Regions from separate parts of the Homo sapiens genome. Here all the other regions are linked to region 3. The links are contacts of gene promoters, found by promoter capture Hi-C in blood cells and fetal thymus (Javierre and others, 2016). All regions are on one chromosome and are shown on one strand. Each heading gives the region's core, a stretch centred on a gene start or on the middle of the fragment in contact. The rest is flanking DNA. Distances are from core to core; before and after follow the strand shown.

Evidence for each region. Contacts are between HindIII fragments. The CHiCAGO score rates a contact against its expected background, and 5 or more counts as called.
Region 1: a fragment that was not itself captured here is called in contact with the fragment with the promoter of CPVL-AS1 in region 3 in 2 of 17 cell types (endothelial precursors and M1 macrophages); the score reaches 6.2 in endothelial precursors.
Region 2: a fragment that was not itself captured here is called in contact with the fragment with the promoter of CPVL-AS1 in region 3 in 4 of 17 cell types (megakaryocytes, erythroblasts, total CD8 T cells and 1 more); the score reaches 6.7 in megakaryocytes.

Annotation. Positions count from the first base shown.
Region 1 is chr7:28,950,902-28,953,729 of GRCh38, reverse strand. TRIL (TLR4 interactor with leucine rich repeats) reads left to right here. Exons shown (of 1, transcript NM_014817.4): 1 at 1-372. Among named protein-coding and RNA genes, the nearest start is that of TRIL, 6.0 kb to the left of the region's middle. The HindIII fragment of the contact is 2,252 bases long and covers 453-2,704 here.
Region 2 is chr7:28,920,279-28,923,559 of GRCh38, reverse strand. No RefSeq gene overlaps it. Among named protein-coding and RNA genes, the nearest start is that of TRIL, 36 kb to the left of the region's middle. The HindIII fragment of the contact is 1,025 bases long and covers 973-1,997 here.
Region 3 is chr7:29,078,840-29,081,747 of GRCh38, reverse strand. CPVL-AS1 (CPVL antisense RNA 1) reads right to left here and starts at 1,464. Exons shown (of 3, transcript XR_001744918.2): 1 at 1,420-1,464; 2 at 270-407. All of the region lies in intron 7 of CPVL (carboxypeptidase vitellogenic like), which reads left to right. The HindIII fragment of the contact is 9,422 bases long and covers 1-2,908 here.

The DNA.
Region 1 (2,828 bases), core at 329-2,828, 130 kb after region 3:
TTTGCTGCCAGGGCTTATTTTAGATTGAGAGCATACTGGTACATGAGAGCAGTAGTGTTGTTTGCTCTTATTTTCAACCAGGGAGCTATCTGGCACCTTTTGTGCTCCTGGCTTTTTTCAATCATAGCACTATTGCATCTCCTAGCTATTTCTTTTGCCCAGCAGGGTAATATTGAGTCCCATTGCAAGTATGGACAAGGCCTCTGGTTCTCCTCACCACCCACCTTTTCAGCCATAGAACATCACTGAAAATGCCTAATGCCTGGATCTGTGTTCTACTTTAGTTTCACTGGGAAGTCTTTCAGTGGGAGATGAATAAATGTTATACATTGTTATGTCCAGTTATGTCAATAAACCCACTAATAGAGATAATTTGTTGGAGTTTCCAAATATTTTATACACTTTCATAATGACACAATGCAGTTCCCATTTATGGAAATGAAACATAAGCTTGATGTCTTTCTGTCCTTTTTAATGTTTTTTATTTCCGTTTTCATAGGTGAGTATGGACTTTAAGAAAAGGATGTGTGATGTTATGTGCAAAGAAACAATGAAATGGCTCTAAAAGCAGATGGTCAGCCACAGCATGAAAGTGCTGTTGGACACCAGTGACATCAAGGTGCAGGTGATCGGGTCTCAGCAGGCATTGCCTGTTTAAAGGAAACTGATGAAAAGTCAAGCCCTTTGGCTCTCATGGTCAAAAATATGAAGGAATTATCTTGAGCTGGAAGTAATTTTTGATTTTTGTCACTACACAGCTTATGAAAAGATAACATTCCTAAGGAAAAAAGAATAAACTTGGTATGAGTTAGGAGTATTCAGTGAAAGAGCCACTGGCCAGTCTGTAATGTTGTGGGACCTTCAGGTCAACCAATGGGATTACTGCTTCCATAATGCAGGGGATTTTGCAGGGCTACCAGGTAATAAATAATTAGCATGTGATCAGAACACCTTCACTAAATTGTCACACACCTGATTGTCACCAAAACTACAGCAACATATATGAAACCATTAAAAGAGAGAACTGAATTGCCTGTTATTTGTGTTTAAGCACTCCCTCCTGTTCTTATAAGACTGGAAGGTAAATGGTGATGAAGCATATTAGTGCTAGAAGTTTATTCCCAATTCCAGACCATGGCCTAGTATCAATATTGTCACCATCCTCAGAAAGTATAGCATCATGAAAGTTGGGAATGATGGTAAGGAAGTGATGAAGGCACTTAGTCATTAGAGGGTTGCATTCATTCTTTTTACCTAATTTCTACCTCAGCTTCCTCATCAGTTAAAATGAGCAGCCTAAGAATCCTGATTGCATAGTGCTATTGTGAGGCATAAATGGGTAAGTAGCATTCAACAACGCCAGATACACCACAGATGTTCAGTAAATATGAGATGTAGCAGTGGTAGTAGTATTTACACAGGGCAACAAATTGTTTGATTAAGAAGTTTCAGACACAAGGCATTTCTGCTTAAGCCATAACCAATCAGAGGATTCAGGTAATGGAATTATGGTAACCCTTCTCCTCCTCTTTTTCTAGTTAATTGAAACATTTGTGTAATTCTTTTGAAAAGTGTCTGTGCATGTCCTTTGCCCACTTTTTAATGGGGTTGTTTGTTTTTCTCTTATAAATTTAAGTTCCTTACAGATGCTTTGTCAGATGCACAGTTTGCAAATATTTTCTCCCATTCAATGGTAGCTTGTCTGTTGACTCTGTTGATAGTTTCTTTTGCTGTACAGCAGCTCTTAAGTTTAATTAGATCCCATTTGTCAATTTTTGCTTTTGTTGCCGTTGTTTTTGGTGTCTTTGTCATGAAATCTGTGCCCACGCCTATGTATGGGATGGTATTGCTTAGGTTATCTTCCAGCATTTTATAGTTTTGGGTTTTACATCTCAGTCTTCAATCCATCTTGAGTAGATTTTTATGTATGGCATAAGGAAGGGGTCCAGTTTCAATCTTCTGCATATGGCTGCCTGGTTATCCCAGCACCATTTATTGAATAGGGAGTCTTTCCCCCCTTGCTTGTTTTTGTCAGCTTTGTCAAAGATCAGATAGTTGTAGATGTGCAGCCTTATTTCTTAGCTCTCTATTCTGTTCCATTAGTCTATGTGCCCTTTGTTGTACCAGTGCCATGCTGTTTTGGTTACTGTAGCCTCGCATAGTGCAAAGTCGGGTAACGTGATGCCTCCACCTTGGTTCTTTTTGCTTAGGATTGCCTTGGCAATTTGCCTTCCCATTAACTTATAGATAGTATCTTCAAGTGTCCCTTTATTTAGTTTACTTAAAACAATACTTTGCATGCACAAATACTTTTTTTCCTAGGGATTTCAAGTCACTTCATCCTTTTCAGTCATGTGGCAAATAGTATTCTTTTCATTTTGCATGGGGAGACTGAGGTATTTGGAGATTATGCTTAACTATTTTAATTACTGAAATAATTAGGAAAGAACGTATAGTTTCCTGATACCTGCTTGCTTTATCTTAGGGCAGAGTATCTAAATATTCCATTACAACTGTTGGAAAGATTTTTAAGTTACAGGTGGTGAGATTTCTAATTGACACAGAACTGTGAGTGGCTTTATAACTTGGCTGTGAAATGGTATCAGATGCTAGAGGGAAATAAATTGTCATGCCCCAGTATTTCAAGCAACAGCATCTTTCAACTATGTAAATCCACAAAATTTCTTTCAAACTAATGAAAGCTTTATAATGCTAGCTCTGTGCCATAGTTAATGCCGACAGGACAGCCCTGTTGCATATTAAGACCAGCTGTGGCCATGTAGCAGGCTTCAGTTTACCAAATTACAGTTTTTTTGGTTAAGTAATTC
Region 2 (3,281 bases), core at 236-2,735, 160 kb after region 3:
CAGCTGAAGGGCGCAGATAGTAAATCATTTTACATGCCTAGGATGGAAGACAAGCTCCTTGGGGATTCTGTGATGGTGGTGGAAGAGGGGCCTTCTTCCTGATCAGCACTTTGGGTGCCAGCCTGCTCTGGTCAATGGGAAAGAATGGAAACCTTAGAATTCAACCATATCTGCCTGGGCCTGGGGTGGGATGAACTAAAAAACCAGAGCCTCAAGGTGGCTTGGGTAAAGTGCCTACTGGAATTTACACTTTCTCACAAGCATCAGAGAGATGTTAGGACACAAAAAACTCTTTTGTGCTGCAGAAGATTTTGCAATCTTTGGGTGCCAGGAAAGGTTTCAGTTTCCTTAGCTGTAAAATAGAGATCAAAGCCCCCTTGCTTGCTTCACTGGATCATGTGGAGAACAAAATATAAGCATGAAAGTGAAAACACCTCGCACATCTAGGGAGAGCTTGCAGTATTGCTATGAAAAGTGGTAGCATAAATTAACAGCATGAAGCATTTATGTATCATTTCTCCAACAACCCACTTTTCAGCAATGATTTCCTCACATTTGCATTTTGGTGCTGTTTTGTTGTTTAGATACGAATTAATGCTAAATGTTAAACTCTACTGGGTTCTCTCATTCAAATTGGAGTAACACAGGGAAGGCAATTCTTGTATTCATGGTCTTCTGTTTTCAGGGGGCCGTGGTCTCCTGCAAAGTGCTAAAGCCTCTCTCAAGTATGATGAAACAGCGCCACCGTGTGGTCTCGAGGCTTACCATCATTCACTCATTTGCCTTTGGATTTTTACGGAGCATTGGTCAATAAACATCAGAATATGTGTAAATGCATATTGAAATAATGGAAATTGAGGTAAATTTGGTGGAATCCTCCCATAGCTGTATTTGTGAGCACTTATTAGAGAAAGTATCCATTCATCATTGGCATGGACATGCTTGAATAAGGTTTGTGAGTGACAACAAGCTTAATATTGTCCAAAAGTCTATCTTGGCGATGGTGGTAACTAAAAAATGCATTTTTCCAGAATATCTCCCTCCATTCTCTGATGAAAGAGTCTATATAATGTGTGTATTTCATGAAATGCATTTTATTGTATGCGGAGGGGGAGAGAGAGGTATATAAGGCAACATATATTTAACAGAAAATAAGAATGAAAAATTGTAAAAGTCTTCTTGGCTAGGGCCACTCATTTATCCTGAAGTTAATCAAGCAACCAAGACCAAAGCACTTTGGGGAGCGGCGTGGTAACTATGCATTGGACTGTTACTAAATAGATGAGCCTTTGCCAGGAAATATTTGTTAGGGATAATAGCACAGCAAGGAATGGTTCTCTTCTTTTTAAAATGGCTTATGAATGACAATAACAATAATAACTTACTGTGTTTATTTAGCCAGGCACTGTCTGAAGCACTTTGCCTGCATTGTTCCGTATATTAATTGGAGAGGAGTTCAGTAATGGCCATTTTAAAAATATAATCTAATTTTAAAAAATGCTAGCCAATGTAAGCAGACACACATTCGAGATAAGAGCTAAGCCAGTGTCATTGGCGCTAGACTCAATAGCTCTGAATGCGCTGGGTGGTTGATTCCCTCTGGTGGCCATTCTGGGAATTTACAGATGTAATGCAAATGTCACACAGTACTATAATAATCACAAGCACTGGGATACATATTGGTGAATGCAGTCCTGTCCAGGGAACATGAAGCCACTGGGATGTGACTGTTAGAGTATGACCATCTTTGTTCTTATTACGTTCCTGCTGTAGATGAAAGAGAGAGTAAGTGAATGATCCACTGATGTGCTAGGATTCAATATGGAATGTGGACAGGAGCATACAAAATGATGGGCGTTAATAAGGGGCTAACATGCCACTCTCTGTTTTCCCCTTCAGCTCTGAAATCAAATGGGAGAAAACATTGAAAATGTTAAATAACCGAATGGGTAAGTAAATTGTGTTGTATCCACTGGATCCATTTGAAATAGAAAGCTTCTTTTTATAATATACATTACATCAATGCTCAAGCATTTGTATGTATCTATACATAGAAAAGATCTAGAAGGATAGTTACCAAGTTGCTAACAATCGTAACCTCTGGGGATTAAGGTGAGGACAGGGCAAGAGGATGAAGACTTTTGTCTTTTACTTTATCATTCATTTATTAACACAAACTTGTATTTCTTTTATAATGAAACAATCAAAGTAAACAAATTATAAGAACCAAATATATGCCCCTCTGAAATGTAACATGCCCTGAAAATGTGATAAGTGGGTTAGGGAAATGTTGTAATTCATCTTACGTTTTAGAACTTCACAATATATAGCTTTAAATATTAGCAATCATAGAGCCCCTCTAAAACAGAGTACTCTAAAAGTTTTAGTAGAATTTGTATTAATTCCCTGATATTTTTCTTGCTTTTGAACTTATGAAATGGAGGAGCTTACTTGACCACAGATCTAAAATATTTTCGTTACTTGCTGAGGAGTGTGTGAGCCACCAGTTAAGGCAAGAAATTTGGAATTCTGCTTCCAAGTTCCAATTTAGCTATTCCTTTATTTGTTGATCTTATTTAAAAAAATGTCTTTTCCTGCAAAGCCAATCCAAAAAGGCACATAGTGTTTTGTACACCACAATTATTAAAAATCACTCTGATTCCATGTATGTATATTAGAACTTTGAATCAAAACATTTAAGGTGGTTTTGGAAATCTATATCTAATGTTTAAAATAACATGATATAAAATAGACATTGGTTTTGGGGTGCGGGATAAGGAAAAGGGAGGAAAGGAAAGTGTAGGGACATGAAATGGGGCCAGACGTGAGATGAGTCCACAACATACACTAATGAAAATGAAGTTCTGCAAAACTTTTGGTAAGGGTGAATCATAGATTTGGTTTGCAGTTTACTAGCAATTCAAAGAAACAGGGTAAGCTCCAGGAGTCGCAGGCCCACAAGGCATAGATGAGTCGATTGTTAAGGAGGAACAACAGCTACTGGGCTACTAAGACAAGAAAAAATTGTCTCCTGCTTGACTGGGTTCTAGTTAAAAATAAGATGGTGTTCATCAATCGCAGAGGGAGACGCAGGAGAAGGAGATGGGATCCAAATCCTGGCAGGCTCCTTACTCCTGGGTTGGAGGAAAGACAGCTGTCCCCAGTCCCTCAAAAATTTTTATTTTCCATTTTTAGTAGCCTGCCTTTCCCATCTACCCTGACCCCAACCTGAACTTCATCCTTTCCTCAGTGGGCCCTGAAACGTTCCCCAGTTCTTCTTT
Region 3 (2,908 bases), core at 215-2,714:
GCTGGGCTAATATATTATGACTCCCAAGCATACAGCCTAATGCCTGGAGACAAGAGCTGAAGTGTTAATAGAAGCTCCGCTAACTCATTGCTGGGATATGGCATTTCCCCCTCTACTCTGTGTCTATTATTTTGAAATCATTTTTAAAAGCAATAGTTACTTTGTCTAAAAAAAAATGGAGCTTAGCAGTTGACATTAGAAGTTGTGCTTGTTTTTTATATGGACAGCAGCAAAATGTGTCAGGACCCACCCCAGGCTCCCTGCCTCACCGTGTGGACGATGGTGTGGCCACACCAGAGAAAGTGGCGTGGGCCTGCCCTCAGTGCAAAGGAAAGGGGAGAAGCTGCTTTGTCTTCTTCCTCCTCCTCTTCATTTCTGCCCAGAACACCAACTGGAATTAATTTTCTCTAAAAAGAGACAAATGTGTCTGTAAATCACCCTCCTCAAGGCATGAAAAAAACATACTTCAAAAAGAGAAATAAGCTGTGTTTAATTCCCATAATTAACTTTCTTTATAAGTGTTATCCTTTCTGAGCCAGTAGCTATTAGTGAGATTGCCCTTGTTCTTGAGGCACGGACACATTTAGCATCCTCTCAATTGTACATGAGCCCAGGTAGAAGTTAAAGCAAAACAGCCCTCACGGGAAGGCAGGTAGGTGACAGGATCAGGGGGACCGCCCATTGTTCTCTGAGCCTGTGGCTTTATGTGCCGCTCAAGGGAAAGAGTCAGTGCACGTGGGAGGTTGTGGCAGTGGATGGGAACGCTTCCAAACTAGCAGGGCATGTGGTTAAAACAGAACATCTCTTCTCCATCAGCAAAAACGGGCAGACTCTCTTTATAAACAGTTTTGCAACCATAATTTATTTGAGAACCCAATAGAGACAAAACTTTGAAGCTATTTAAAAATGAATTAGGGAGCTTAATGGGACACTTTATCTTCATCTGCATGGGTGAAGTCCCTGTTGGAAGTACAGTGTCTGACAACCTTTATTGAAATCATCATGGCCCATTGGGTTAGGTGGCAAGCTCCCAGTATGCGAGAGCCATGTTTGTTTCTTATTCAATACTAAGCACGGTGCTTAATGAATATTATAGAATGGAGTTCATGCATGGCTGCCTTTAGATAAAATAAAAATATTGATATTTATTTCCTGCATCTTTTCACCTACTTTTTTTTTTTTTTTTTTTTGAGACAAAGTGTCACTCTGATGCCTAAGCTGGAGTGCAGCATTGCCATCTCAGCTCACTGCACCCTCCAATTCCCGGGTTCAGGTGATTCTCCTGCCTCAGCCTCCCGAGTAGCTGGGATTACAGGCACGTGCCACCATGCCCGCCTAATTTTTGTATTTTTAGTAGAGATGGGGTTTCACTATGTTGGACAGGCTGGCCTTGAACTCCTGACTGGGTGATCTGCCTACCTCAGTCTCCCAAAGTGCTGAGATTACAGATGTAAGCCACTGCGCCCAGCCCCTTTCTTTTTTTAAAATTTTTATTTTAGGTTTGGGTGTACATGTGAAGGTTTGTTACATAGACAAACACGTGTCATAGGGGTTTGTTGTACATATTATTACATCACCCAGGTATTAAGCTCAGTACCCAATAGTGATCTTTTCTGCTCCTCTCGCCTCCCTTTCATTGCCCTTCTCTCCCTGTACTATGTCCCAGGCCCTGGGGACTCTCCTTTGGCCTCCGTTGTTTTCCAGGGCCATCTTCCCACCTCAGCCATCCTCTCCTCAGTCTATTGTGCACAGCTTCTATTTCTCCATGCTTCTTCCATCTGTATCATGATTGTTCTGTTTCTGTCCCCCATTCTGACTTGTTGTCAACTCATTGTTCCATAGAAAGGATCTGATAAATTAAACCCAATAGGGTGGACTCTCAACATGTTTGCATTTGAGTAGAGAGCAGAGCCTACCTGATGGGTAGATATTTGTAATAGGGTAATTTCAAGCACTAACATGCAAACAGAAGGGTGGCAACCAAGGTGGGGTGGGAGAGCGATTCTAGAAGTAGGCTTATAATTATTAGCATTCTATGTAAGCCTGTACCATCATCCTGTTAGCCTGGGCTTGGGATCATGTAATTTGATGGCTAGAAGTGATACTTCAAGAACATCTAGTTCATGTATTTTATCTGTAGATTTTACTAGAGAATATTTATTGAGAATGGACTGTATGGTAGACATCATGCTAAGCACTGTTTTATGCATTACCTCGTTTAATCCTAACAGCTGCCTTATGAAATAGGTGCTATGATTATTCTTCCCATTTTACAGGTGAGGTGACCGAGGCTTAGTGAGGTTAGGTATGCCTTACCAAGGTCACCCAGCCAGAAAGTGGAGGAGCCAGCATTGGAACCTAAGCAGTCAGACTCCAGGGCCTGAAGATGGTGGTGAAGAAATGAGCTAGTGGTGCAGCCTTGTTCACCAAAATGCTTGTTCACCAAACTGGGTGCTCTCACCTTGAACTTGCACTGTCTCTAGGACCTGCTTCAGATTCACTTTGTGTCTGAAGGGGAGTCAAACATCCCCTTCCATATTTTATGCTGAATCTCTAAGGTTATTAACCTTACACAAACAGAAAAGAAGTTCTCTAGCTTCTTGAATGTCTCTGTCTTTCTGGCCAAGACTGTTTTAATCATAAAGACTTGGCTTTGATCATTAAGTTTTATAGAGTAAGTGGAAGTTTCAAGTGATATAAGGACTTGAAGTCTTTGGAATGCAATTATTTCTCAAGGCTTGGAACTTGCTGAATTTTATTAGATAGCATTCAAGCTGTTTTAACTCTTGAACCTATGACAAATCTCTATTTTCAGTTATGTTCATCTGCACTTGCCAATATTTTCTTTTTGAATTGAAAATGGATTTGTGACTATTTAATGATTTTAATATTACAAAAATCAGGGTTT